4 separate regions of the Homo sapiens genome follow, and all the other regions are linked to region 1. The links are contacts of gene promoters, found by promoter capture Hi-C in blood cells and fetal thymus (Javierre and others, 2016). All regions are on one chromosome and are shown on one strand. Each heading gives the region's core, a stretch centred on a gene start or on the middle of the fragment in contact. The rest is flanking DNA. Distances are from core to core; before and after follow the strand shown. Region 1 holds the start of MMP20 (matrix metallopeptidase 20). Region 2 overlaps LOC105369460 (a long non-coding RNA gene). Region 3 has its middle 15 kb from the start of BIRC3. Region 4 overlaps BIRC3 (baculoviral IAP repeat containing 3).

What was found. The method cuts DNA at HindIII sites, captures the fragments that hold promoters and counts their contacts. A CHiCAGO score of 5 or more calls a contact.
Region 2: a fragment that was not itself captured here is called in contact with the fragment with the promoter of MMP20 in region 1 in 16 of 17 cell types (naive CD8 T cells, naive B cells, non-activated CD4 T cells and 13 more); the score reaches 21.9 in naive CD8 T cells.
Region 3: a contact is called between a fragment that was not itself captured here and the fragment with the promoter of MMP20 in region 1, in 4 of 17 cell types (M0 macrophages, megakaryocytes, M2 macrophages and 1 more). The highest score is 9.1, in M0 macrophages.
Region 4: a fragment that was not itself captured here is called in contact with the fragment with the promoter of MMP20 in region 1 in 12 of 17 cell types (M1 macrophages, M0 macrophages, M2 macrophages and 9 more); the score reaches 15.6 in M1 macrophages.

What each region holds. Positions count from the first base shown.
Region 1 is chr11:102,623,890-102,626,809 of GRCh38, reverse strand. It overlaps MMP20 (matrix metallopeptidase 20), which reads left to right and starts at 1,478. Exons shown (of 10, transcript NM_004771.4): 1 at 1,478-1,616. The coding sequence starts at 1,491. The HindIII fragment of the contact is 723 bases long and covers 1,289-2,011 here.
Region 2 is chr11:102,280,019-102,282,938 of GRCh38, reverse strand. It overlaps LOC105369460 (a long non-coding RNA gene), which reads right to left. Exons shown (of 5, transcript XR_007062863.1): 5 at 1,700-2,920. Among named protein-coding and RNA genes, the nearest start is that of BIRC3, 36 kb to the left of the region's middle. The HindIII fragment of the contact is 1,863 bases long and covers 432-2,294 here.
Region 3 is chr11:102,300,944-102,303,863 of GRCh38, reverse strand. No RefSeq gene overlaps it. Among named protein-coding and RNA genes, the nearest start is that of BIRC3, 15 kb to the left of the region's middle. The HindIII fragment of the contact is 3,302 bases long and covers 1-2,920 here.
Region 4 is chr11:102,321,847-102,324,766 of GRCh38, reverse strand. BIRC3 (baculoviral IAP repeat containing 3) reads right to left here. Exons shown (of 9, transcript NM_001165.5): 2 at 1-2,920. The coding sequence starts at 257. Among named protein-coding and RNA genes, the nearest start is that of BIRC3, 5.8 kb to the right of the region's middle. The HindIII fragment of the contact is 1,743 bases long and covers 680-2,422 here.

The DNA.
Region 1 (2,920 bases), core at 229-2,728:
TATAAAGGAAAGAGGCTTAGTTGACTCACAGTTTTACATGGCTGGGGAGGCCTCAGGAAACTTAGAATCATGGTGCAAGGCAAAGGGGAAGCAGGCACCTTCTTGACAAGGCAGCAGGAGAGAGAAGATCAATGGAGGAACTTTCAAACACCTATAAAACCATCATATCTTGTGAGAACTCACTCATTGTCATGAGAACAGCATGACGGAACCACCCCCATGATCCAATCCCCTCCCTCCCTCAACACATGGGGATTACAATTCGAGATGAGATTTGGTTAGGGACACAGAGCCAAACCATATTAATGTGTGACAAACTCTTGTTCAGTGCCTGGGGTTGTACACTAGATACCAAACATTGGCTGTAACTCCACCATCTTCTCTTCCATGCAAAGAAAGCATATCAAAATGCAACAGAGTGAGAAAGACTATAGGAATTCACTGTATTCACTATAGGAATAACCTTGAATTTAGTCTAAAATCAAAATTAGGATTTGAATCCACATCTAGTGGATGCCAAGTGGTGCTTGCAGATGTCATGCTATATGTGTTACTCCATAACACTGAAAAGTTTATACATAGTAGTAGTATTGTCAGTCTTTTGTAGATTAAAAAAAACTTGATATTCAGAGATTAAATGACATACCCAACATCACACAGCTAGGAAATATCTTTTTAAATATTTAGTCTTGCTTTGTCTGACTCTAAGTGCTTTTCCCACCATATGACACCATTTCACCGTATCATCTCTGGATCCAAATCCATCTTAATCAGACCCAGGAAAAACAATATGACTCCAATTAACCAGAGTACACAGAGATTGGGGAGTTCTGGCTATTGTTTTGGTTAACGAAGACGTAACTCTTGCCTTAATTCATCCAAAAGCTTTCTAACAGTTACCAGTTCACTTTCCACCCTAAGTCAGCACAGTATAATGTAATCTTGCCTTGATGATTCAGGATCTTATGTGTCTCAGAGCCATCATTATGAACAGCAGTTGCTACTAAGAAATTTTGAAGTGAATGCAGGAGATACAGGCGATTGGGTTGAATGCATGGGGAGTTTGGGATTACTTGGAGGACAAATTCAATTATACTGTAATCATCTAACTTTTCTGTAATCAGAATGGAAAAAGGCCCCCAAATGAAGACTAATCAAATGTTTCAGTTGAGTTGGGTTCAAATCAATCAAGTTTACTTCAATTTTTGTAACTAGCTGACCAACTTCATTAAAAGTGACTGTTTTTCTCCTTTTGCCACTTGGTAAATAACAAAAAAAATATGAAGCTTTCCCTGATTCCTGTGTACAGTTGTGTTACCCCATCATCAGGGAGAGAAATGAGCTGTATAATTACTGTTTGAGACATGAATCATCCTTGCTCGGAGGGTCCAGACCTGTTTGACTCTATAAAAGGAGCTCAAGGTCGAAGTGCAAACGTGCACTGTCTGCCATCCCCCAGGCTGATATAATTACCAAGCTACTGTGAGGGGATGAAGGTGCTCCCTGCATCTGGCCTTGCTGTCTTCCTCATCATGGCTTTGAAGTTTTCCACTGCAGCCCCCTCCCTAGTTGCAGCCTCCCCCAGGACCTGGAGGAACAACTACCGCCTCGCACAGGTTTGTGAATTTTTGCCCAATTCCTTCTTGCTCCTCTGCCCTAGAAAACCTAAAAGGGCATAGTGAGAAAATAAGAAAAAAATTCTATTGTTCTTTTAAAATCATTTTATATAAGTCCATTGAAGTCTAACTGATGCTATCTTCTGTCCACCTAGATTGGTGTCTGGTGCATATTAGGTGTACCATGTTACATGACTGAATAAATACATGAGGATATATCTACCTAGCTATCTTGCTTCATAAAGAATTCCAGGTGGCTTGTGAAAACCATGCAATATAAAAGGAGCAAACAAGTACTTCCCGGGAATGATGTAGGAGGAAAAATAGAAGCAGAAAAATAAAAACCGAGGCATAATCCACACGCTAGAGGCAGGTTGTGAATTTAGTGCTAAGCTTTAGCGGTCACAACAAGGAGATTTCCTGTGTTTCCACTTTTTAAATGGCTCTTATATTCAAGGTAACCCTGATCAAAATTTAAAGTGGACTAAGTTCTTCCTGGGTGCCAACCCACTTCTCATTTGAAGGCCTTTTCTCCCTAAAGCATATTCCCCAATGAAGTAAAAGTTTATGTACAAAGTACATAACAAAGTTTATGTAGTAAGTACAAAGTACAACGTTTATGTACTTAAACTTTGTGTATTTTCCTCTTTTGAGATCTCTCCTCTATGACTGCTGGAAAGGGTCTGATAGAAATGATCCATATTCAAATATTTCACAAAGACTGCTTGACTCAAAATGATTTCTACATATATATATATATATATATATATATATATATATATATATATATATGCTTCCAAGCGTGTTTTGTTTTTAAAAGAAGGGTGGCATCCTTAACCTAAAGAAATGGATGTCTACGGATGGAATTTCCAACATTAGTGAAAGATATATAGAGGAAATGCTTTTGCACACAGGCCTCCCTTTCAAGAGTCTGCCAACATTACAGCACATCTGTGATCACCAGCTCCGCCTCAGGGCTGCTTTCCTGACTGCCAGGCTGCACCTGTGTACCGCTTGGCTGTCTGCATCGTAGAGCTGATTTGCACCCATGTGCAATGGCATGTCCCTACCGATTGTTTCTGCCACTCATCCTTATTAACTGGTCAGTTCCCCGGCCATACCAGTCATTAAACACTTAAATATCAGCCCCGCAGATGAACAGCACAGCTGATGCCCAGCACAACCATGTTGAACTGAACTTCTTTTGACTTTAGCCCACTTTTAGATGAACTAAATTCAAAATAACTCAGGATACTGGGATCCTTATTCAATTGTATTTTGTCCATGCCACCTAGCTTTAGGTG
Region 2 (2,920 bases), core at 114-2,613, 340 kb after region 1:
TTCACTCTTGAGCAATGGCGCGATCTCGGCTCACTGCAACCTCCGCCTCCCAGGTTCAAACGGTTATTCTGCCTCAGCCTCCCAAGTAGCTGGGATTACAGGTGCCCGTCACCAAGCCCAGCTAATTTTTCATATTTTCAGTAGAGACAGGTTTTCACCATGTTGGCCAGGCTGGTCTCGAACTCCTGACCTCAGGTGATCCACCTGCCTCAGCCTCCCAAAGTGCTGGGATTACAGGTGTGAGCCAATGTGCCCGGCCTAATTTTCTTTTTAATTTTGTAGAGATGGGGTCTTGCTATGTTGTCCAGGCTGGTCCTGAACTCCCAGGCTCAAGCAATCCTCTAGCCTCAGCCTCCCACTGCTGGGATTACAGGCGTGAGCCACCATGCCTGGCCATTGGAAACCATATACTAAGGGGTGTGGAACAAGCTTGGGTCCCTGATGACTGTGGAGTTGCTCTATCAATGCTGGACCTCTTTATCACAAAAGAATAATAAGAATAAACATTTTCCTTGTTTATATCACCGATATCTGGGTGAAATCTACTCCAAATTGCAACAGTTACTAAAGGCTGGGATTAGAATCTGAACCCAAACACATATGATGTTAAAGTCTCACATTCATTCCATTACCTTGCCAGCTTCCCTGACCATGGAAGCAGGTCTGCAACAAGCCCTGGCTCAGCCACTAACACACACAACAAACAAGTACCGACTACAATATATAGGAGTCATATGCTCTTCTAGGTTCCAGCATACAACAGTAAACAAAGACAAAAATCCCTGGGATTTAATTAATATTCTAATAAGGAATGATATACAATTTTTTAAAAATATGTAAAATGTAGGCTGTGTTAATGATAAATACTATAAAGCTAAATAATGCAGAAAATGTAGATAGGGAATGCTAGGAAGAAGGGTTTCAGGATTTGTTGATTTGTTTTTATTGTTTTTGTTTTGTTTTGTTTTTGAGATGGAGTCTTGCTCTGTTGTCCAGTCTGGAGTGCAGTGGTGCGATCTCGGCTAACCACAACTTCCACCTCCCAGGTTCAAGCAATTCTCCTGCCTCAGCCTCCTGAGTAGCTGGGACTACAGGCGTGAGCCATCATGCCCAGCTAATTTTTGTGTTTGTATCAGAGATGTAGTTTCACTATGTTGGCCAGGCTAGTCTCGAACTCCTGACCTCATGATCCACCCTCCTTGGCCTCCCAAAGTGCTGGGATTATAGGCGTGAGCCACTGCACACGGCCTTGCTAATTTTCTGTATTTTTAGTGGAGACGGGATTTTGCCATGTTGGCCAGGCTGGTCTTGAACTTCTGACCTCAGGTGATCCACACACCTCGGCCTCCCAAAGTACTGGGATTACAGGTGTGAGCCACCACACCCAGCCCCTGAAATTTGAATTGAAGACAATTTTTAACATGTCATGAAATGTTATCCTTTTGATTTTTTTTTTTTGCAGCCATTTAAAAATGTATCTTAACATTCTAGTCAAAAACAAAAACAAAAACAAAAACAAAACAGGCAGTAGACTGGATTTGACCTGCAGGCTGTACTCTGCTAACCCCTGCTTTAGACAGATGTACATTTATTCAATTTTTTTCTTAACTTGGTACATTTTTTTAAATGCATGCTAATGATGAACTTCTTAAAGTTACAGTGCTGGTATCTTGACCCACCAAAAAAAAGTGGTTGCAAATCATAGATCCAAAATGTATTTGAGGCAGAAGATTGTTCAGAACAAAAATCACTGAAAAGATACATTTTTAGACATAGCTCCTTTACAATTACTTCTTGATAGACAATGGAATTTAACTCTGCACTTACATTCTAATTCTACTTTGACAACGGAACCATTGGAAAAATGTTGGCGTATATTTCTCCAGTTTTGGTTTTATATTTTCTTTATAACTTAAAAAATCTAATTATCATTCTTTTTTGAGAAGGCACTCAATAAATGCTTTTTGAATGAATGATCCAGTCTGTTAAAACTGAAACATTTGCATTCACCCTGGCTTAGGCAAAATTGTAATGAAAGTTATCTTGAACATGCACAGTCTGCGTTTTTCTCTCTATACGGTATGTCTTCTATTAATGTTGTTTTTAAACAACCTTTTCCCTTTCCTTCTCTTGCTGAGATCTCAATACCCTTGCGATCCCTTCCACTTTTTATTAAAACCTGTGCTTAGGGTGAATAAGAGCGTTACTCTTAGAATATTGTAAATAACTTCTAGCAGCAAACTGTTTTACTACACTGTTGGGCTCATTTGCATTTTAATAGAATGAATGAAGCTTTGCATCTGGCATGTTAATACTCAGGGAGCCAACAGGTGGGGAAAACATTTCTTCCAGGAACCTCAGGTAAACTTCTGCTTCAGAAATCATGTCCCATAAGAAGTCACCTCCTTCACCTATGAGGAAAGACAACCACGCTGTCACTGGGCGGAATGGTCACAGCTGGCCTGTGGTGGAATCATGCATTGTAACAGGCAAAGGCTCCAATCAAGCCTGTCCTCTACCCTAGATCTGGGGCTGATAGCATTCTGCAAGAACAGCCACAAAATAAGAACAGGAATCATCTGCACTTTGGAAACACCAACACACTGAGACCTGTTTTGGAAAAAAACAGTGTCTGAAATGGAAAGCTTAGGGGAGACACTTCAAACTCAAAGAACTCCCTGCTGAGATTTTAAAGCCCCACCACATAAAGAAAAAACCTTGACGTGTTTGACTAGCAATTGACAATTTATGTAAAATATCAACTTTCATATCACCAATATTTATATCGCCTAACTTTTATAAGGAACATAAAATATACACATGACTATTCGACCTGCCAAGAAATGATAGCTTGGTATACTGTCATTGGCCTTGGATCATCGCTTGAATTGAGCAACATAATTCAGAGCACAGAGTCTCC
Region 3 (2,920 bases), core at 228-2,727, 320 kb after region 1:
ATAAAGATACCTGAAAATGTGAAATTGGCTTTGCAACTGAGTAACAAACAGAGGCTGAAAGAGTTTGGAGGGGTCAGAAGAAGACAGGAAGATGAGGGAAAGTTTGAATGGTTGTGACCAAAATGCTGATAGAAATATGGAAAGTGAGAGCAAAGCTGACAAGGTCTTAGATGGAAATGAGGAAGTTATTGGGAACTGGAGCAAAGGCCACCCTTGTTACACCCTAGCAAAAAAACTTGGCTGTATTGTGTCCATGCTCTAGGAAATTGCAGAAGTTTGAACTTAAGAATGATGATGTAGGGTATCTGGCAGAAGAAATTTCTAAGCAGCAAATTATTCAAGATGTAGCATGGGCCAGGCGCGGTGGCTCACGCCTGTAATCCCAGCACTTTGGGAGGCCAAGGCGGGTGGATCACGAGGTCAGGAGATCGAGACCATCCTGGCTAACACGGTGAAACCCCGTCTCTACTAAAACTACAAAAAATTAGCCAGGCGTGGTGGCGGGCGCCTGTAGTCCCAGCTACTCGGGAGGCTGAGGCAGGAGAATGGCATGAACCTGGGAGGCAGAGCTTGCAGTGAGCCAAGATAGCACCACTGCACTCTAGCCTGGGCAACAGAGCAAAACTCTGTCTAAAAAAAAAAAAAAAAAAAAGATGTAGCATGGCTGCTTCTAAGAGCCTATATCAGATGAAGGAGCAAAGAAATGACTTAAATAAGTTGGAACTTATATATAAAAGGGAAGCAGAGCATAAAAGTTTGGAAAATTTTCTGCCTGGCTCTGTGGTAGAGAAAGAATCCAAGCAGGCTGTGGACCAACCACTTGCTAAAGAGACTGGCATAACTAAAAGGGAGCCAGGTGCTAATATCCATGACAATGGGAAGAAGGACTTAAAGACATTTCAGAAATCTTTGAGGCAGCCCCTCTCATTACAGGTCAGAGGCCTAGGAGGAAAGAATTATTTCAGGGGCCAGGCACAGGGCATTGCTTCCCTGCTCAGTCTTAGGACCCCACTCTCTGCATCCTGGCCACTCCAGCTCCACCCATGGCTCACAGGGCCATAGGTACAGCTCAAGCTGCCACTTTGGAAAGTGCAAACCACTGTAAGCCTTGGCAGCTTCCACATGGTGTTAAGGCTGCAGGTGTACAAAATGCAAGAGTAAAGGAGGCTTGGCAACTCCCACCTAGATTCCAGAGGATATATGGAAAAGCCTAGATGCCCAGGCAGAAGCCTGCAGTAGGGACAGAGTCCCTACAGAGAAATGCTACTAGGGCAGTACTGAGAGGAAATGTGGGGTTTGAGACCCTACAGAGTCCCCAGCAGGACACTGCCTAGTGGAGCTGTAGGAAGAGGGCCACGAACCTCCAGACCTGAGAATGGTAAAGCCACAGCAGCTTGCAAGCTCAGCATGAAAAAGCCACAGGAACTTAACTCCAGCCCATTAGAGCAGCCACAAATTGCATTCTGTAAAGCCATAAGGGCAAAGCTGCCCAAGGCTTTGGGAACCCACATCTTGCACCAGTATGCCCAGGATACAGGACATGGAGGCAAGGGAAATTATTTTGGAATTTAAAGTTTAATGCCTACCCTGCTGGGTTTCAGACTTGCATGGGGCCAATTGCCTCTTTCTTTTGGCTGATTTCTCCCTTTTGGAATAGAGTGTCTACTCAATGCCTCTACCACCATTGTATCTTGGGTGTAAATAACTTGTTTTGACTTCACAGGTTTGTAGGTAAAAAGAACTCAACTTGAGACTCAGATGTGACTTTGGACTTTTGATTGAATTGATGCTGGAATGAGGTAAGGCTTTGGGGGACTGTTAGAAAGGATGAATGTATTTTATAATGTGAGAAGGACATGAGATTTGAGGGGCCAGAAGGGGAATGATATGGTTTGGGTGTTTGACTCCTCCTAATCTCATGTTGAAATGTAATCCTCAATCTTGGAGGTGGGGCCAAGTGGGAGATATTGGATCATGGGGGCAGATCTTTGATGAATGGCATCACCTTCATGATGAGTGGGTTCTCACTCTGTTAGTTCACCTGAGATCTGGTTATTTTTAAAAGGGCATGGCATTTCCTCCCTCTCTTTCTTGCTCTTGTTCTCTCCATGTGACATGCTGGATCCCGATTGCCTTCCAACATGATTGTAACCTTTCTGAGGCCTCACCAGAAGCAGATGCCAGCACTATGCTTCCTTAAAGCCTGCCAAACCATGAGACAATTAAATCTCTTTTCATTGTAAATCACCCAGCCTCGGGGATTTCTTTATAGCAATGTAAGAATAGACTAATGCATATGTTAAGTGAATTCTTATTTAGAATAGATTAAAAAAATTAGACATTAAAACCATCTGACTAAGACTTGTTTTCCAAGGTGGCTGAATAAGAAGAGCTCCGGTCTGCAGCTCCCAGCATGATCGATGCAGAAGATGGGTGATTTCTGCATTTCCAACTGAGGTACCTGGTTCATCTAATTGGGACTGGTTGGACAGTGGGTGCAGCCCACGGAGGGCGAGCCAAAGCAGGGTGGGGCATTGCCTCACCCGGGAAGCACGAGAGATTGGGGGATTTCCTTTCCCTAGCCAAGGGAAGCCAGGACAGAATGTACCTGGAAAAACAGGACACTCCCGCCCAAATACTGCACTTTTCCCAAGGTCTTAGCAACTGGCAGACAAGGAGATTCTCTCCTGTGCCTGGCTCAGTGGGTCTCATGCCCATGGAGCCTTGCTCACTGCTAGCACAGCAGACTGAGATCAAACAGTGAGGTGGCAGCCTGGCTGGGGGAGGGGCATCTGCCATTGCTGAGGCTTGAGTAGGTAAACAAACTAGCCAAGAAGCTCGAACTGGGTGGAGCCCACTGTAGATCAGCAAGGTCTACTGCCTCTATAGACTCCACATCTGTGGGCAGGGCATAGCTGAA
Region 4 (2,920 bases), core at 302-2,801, 300 kb after region 1:
TGCTTTTCAGTAGGACTGTCTCCTCTTTTCCAGTTATCCAGCATCAGGCCACAACAGAAGCATTTGACCTTGTCATTCACACCAGTGTAATAGAAACCAGCACGAGCAAGACTCCTTTCTGAGACAGGAACCCCAGCAGGAAAAGTGGAATACGTAGACATTCGGTACAGTTCACATGACAAGTCGTATTTCAGTTCAAACGTGTTGGCGCTTTTCATCAAATTTGATAAGAATATGCTGTTTTCTACTATGTTCATAATGAAATGAATGGGGAAGAAAAGGGACTAGCCTTTCTCTAGGGAGGTAGTTTTGTGCATGGCTTTGCTTTTATCAGTTTTAATACTAGGCTGAAAAGCCAAAATGAAAAATTTTTTATTATTTTTATTTCTATGCATTTAGAGTTTCAACATGGAGATTCTAAATCCTATACTGATACATTTTAAGGAAGAAATACACAATTGCACCTTTGTATAATCTTTATACATACAATGTAAACATGATGCTACAGAGTAAGCTGTGTTGAAAATTAAAACCCTTCACAGAAGAGTGATGTGTATTAAGCCATCAGGATGCCATTTAATGGCAGGCATCTCCACAGGTAGGTCAACTTCTCCAGGCTACTAGAATGTTTCAGTGGCATTCAATCAACCCAAAGATGTAATGTGTGACTCATGAAGCTTCTTTTCATGGTGGAAAGCTCTGCTGTCAAGTGTTTCACAGCAAAAATATTCAGAATATGTTTATTTTGCTTTTTGGAAATTGTGAAATTTAGTGGCCAGGAAAAAAAAGCACAAGACCTAACTCAAAGGAGGAAAATAATACATTACCATATTTCACTGATTCTAAGATGGCTATTTTAAAACTTCTGTTATCAAGAAGTATTTCATAATTAATGACATCATATTTTAATTAGAAGCACTTTTATTTCTTAGAGGTACGTAAAATAATGGTAAGATTTACAACTGAAGACATTTTGAATTCAGTGAAATATGATATATCCCCAATTTTTCTCCAATTAGTCATTTTTTTCTTTCTACAATCCTTCTAATAAGGAGAACAAAACAATCTAAAATTTCTCTCCAAATAAAGAGATTTACTAGTAACAGGACTGGCTAACACATCTTAAAACCTGGTTTCAATATTAATTAAATAATAGTTATTTCCCATAGATCATCAGGAATATGATTGCTTAAGTATAATGATACTATTAGATCTTACACAATTAAATATTCTATTTAAAATAAATAATCAGAGATTAATGTGTTTGTTCATTTGGTCTTTTGGACTCAGTTTCATGCTGTTGAAGCAACTCAATGTTAAGTTTTTTTATTCTAATAGTATACTTGGCTAGAACATGGAAATGTCCTCTGTAATTATGGTAGACAACAGGTGCTGCAAAAAGAGACTCTGCCCAAACTACCAATAACAAAACTGAACTTCATTGCTATATTCAGGTTACTTTTGGAAAAACAGAATCATGATATATATTTCATTCCCTTTGTTAAAAATTTTCTTAAGATAATTTAGATATGGCTGTAAAATAAGACCTTTCAAAGATTTTAAATTTTTTGTCCCCCTCAAAGAACTAACATTGTAGAGTTATTCAACTTATCACCTCCTGAAAACATTTTTGAACTTTTGTTTTTCTAAATGTTTCTGAAGCCAACATCAAATCTACTCTGATAGTGGATTTATTTTTTAAAACAGTCAAAAGTTACCAGATGCCATCTGTAGGCTAAGATGGATAATCAAATTGCATCAATTTAGTTTTGGTCAGAAATTATTTCATGGATAGCATACCTTGAACCAGAATTTATCATGACAAAAAAAATAATAAATTTACCATTTCAACAGCAGAGACCTTGTCAAAATTCAGAATTTCTCAATTATGATTTACTAGCCATTAGTAAAGAGGTTCTGAGTCGATAATACTAGCAATGACCAATAAGCAAGTCACTGTGGCTTTTTTTTTTTTTTTTTTTTTTTTTTACCAGTGGTTTGCAAGCATGGTTTCCTGGATCTCACAGACGTTGGGCTTTTCAACTGCAGACTTCAATGCTTTGTTTCCAGGTGGCAGGAGAAACATCACATCTCATTACCAACAATTATTTCCCTCAAAGGTAAGTAATTGTATCTAACTTCAATATTCCTTTCCCTGGCCAAAAATTTTACACATTGTTATAAAAATCTTCTTTGTATTCATCACTGTCTTTATATTAATTTTCTAAGTTTCTTCATTTCCTAAAATGTAACCTTCAACCATCATTCTCATCCTCATCATTCTCAGCGGTAACAGCCCATTTAAACAAACTTTTGGACGTTTAAAATATCAGTGGCCTTGTAAATAACTGGATAATTTCTTGACCAATCATCACATTTATCTTTTTACTTCCTCTAAATTTGTTGCACATATCAAAAAGCTTTGTTCTTGATTTTTCTTTGTCACTGTAGAAGTATTTTAATGTGTCAAAACTTTCATCTGCATGTTTCTTTAATTTGCAGTGGATTGATTATTAGCTCTTTGTTCCAAATAACTGTCACTCATTTTAAAATCTTTCCCAAACACAGGTACTATTTCTATTCTACATAATGGGAGAATGTGCCAGTAGGAGACTGCCTGGCCAACTCTGAAAAAAATGCTTTAACAATATGCCCCAGCTAGAATCACTTTTCCTTTATTTCCACAAATCAAATTCAAAATCAAACTCATTATGGTATACCTTATATAACTCGATCATGTTTATAAAATTAGCATTCTTTGGATAGTAAAACACCAGTTAATACTTAATTTGTTTACCCATGCACAAAACTACCTCCCGAGATTAGACTAAGTCCCTTTAAGGATTTTAGGTCTCCATTTTGAGATGTTTTGATTTATAGAAGAAACTGAAAAAAAAATCTAGAAGAAGTCGTTTTCCTC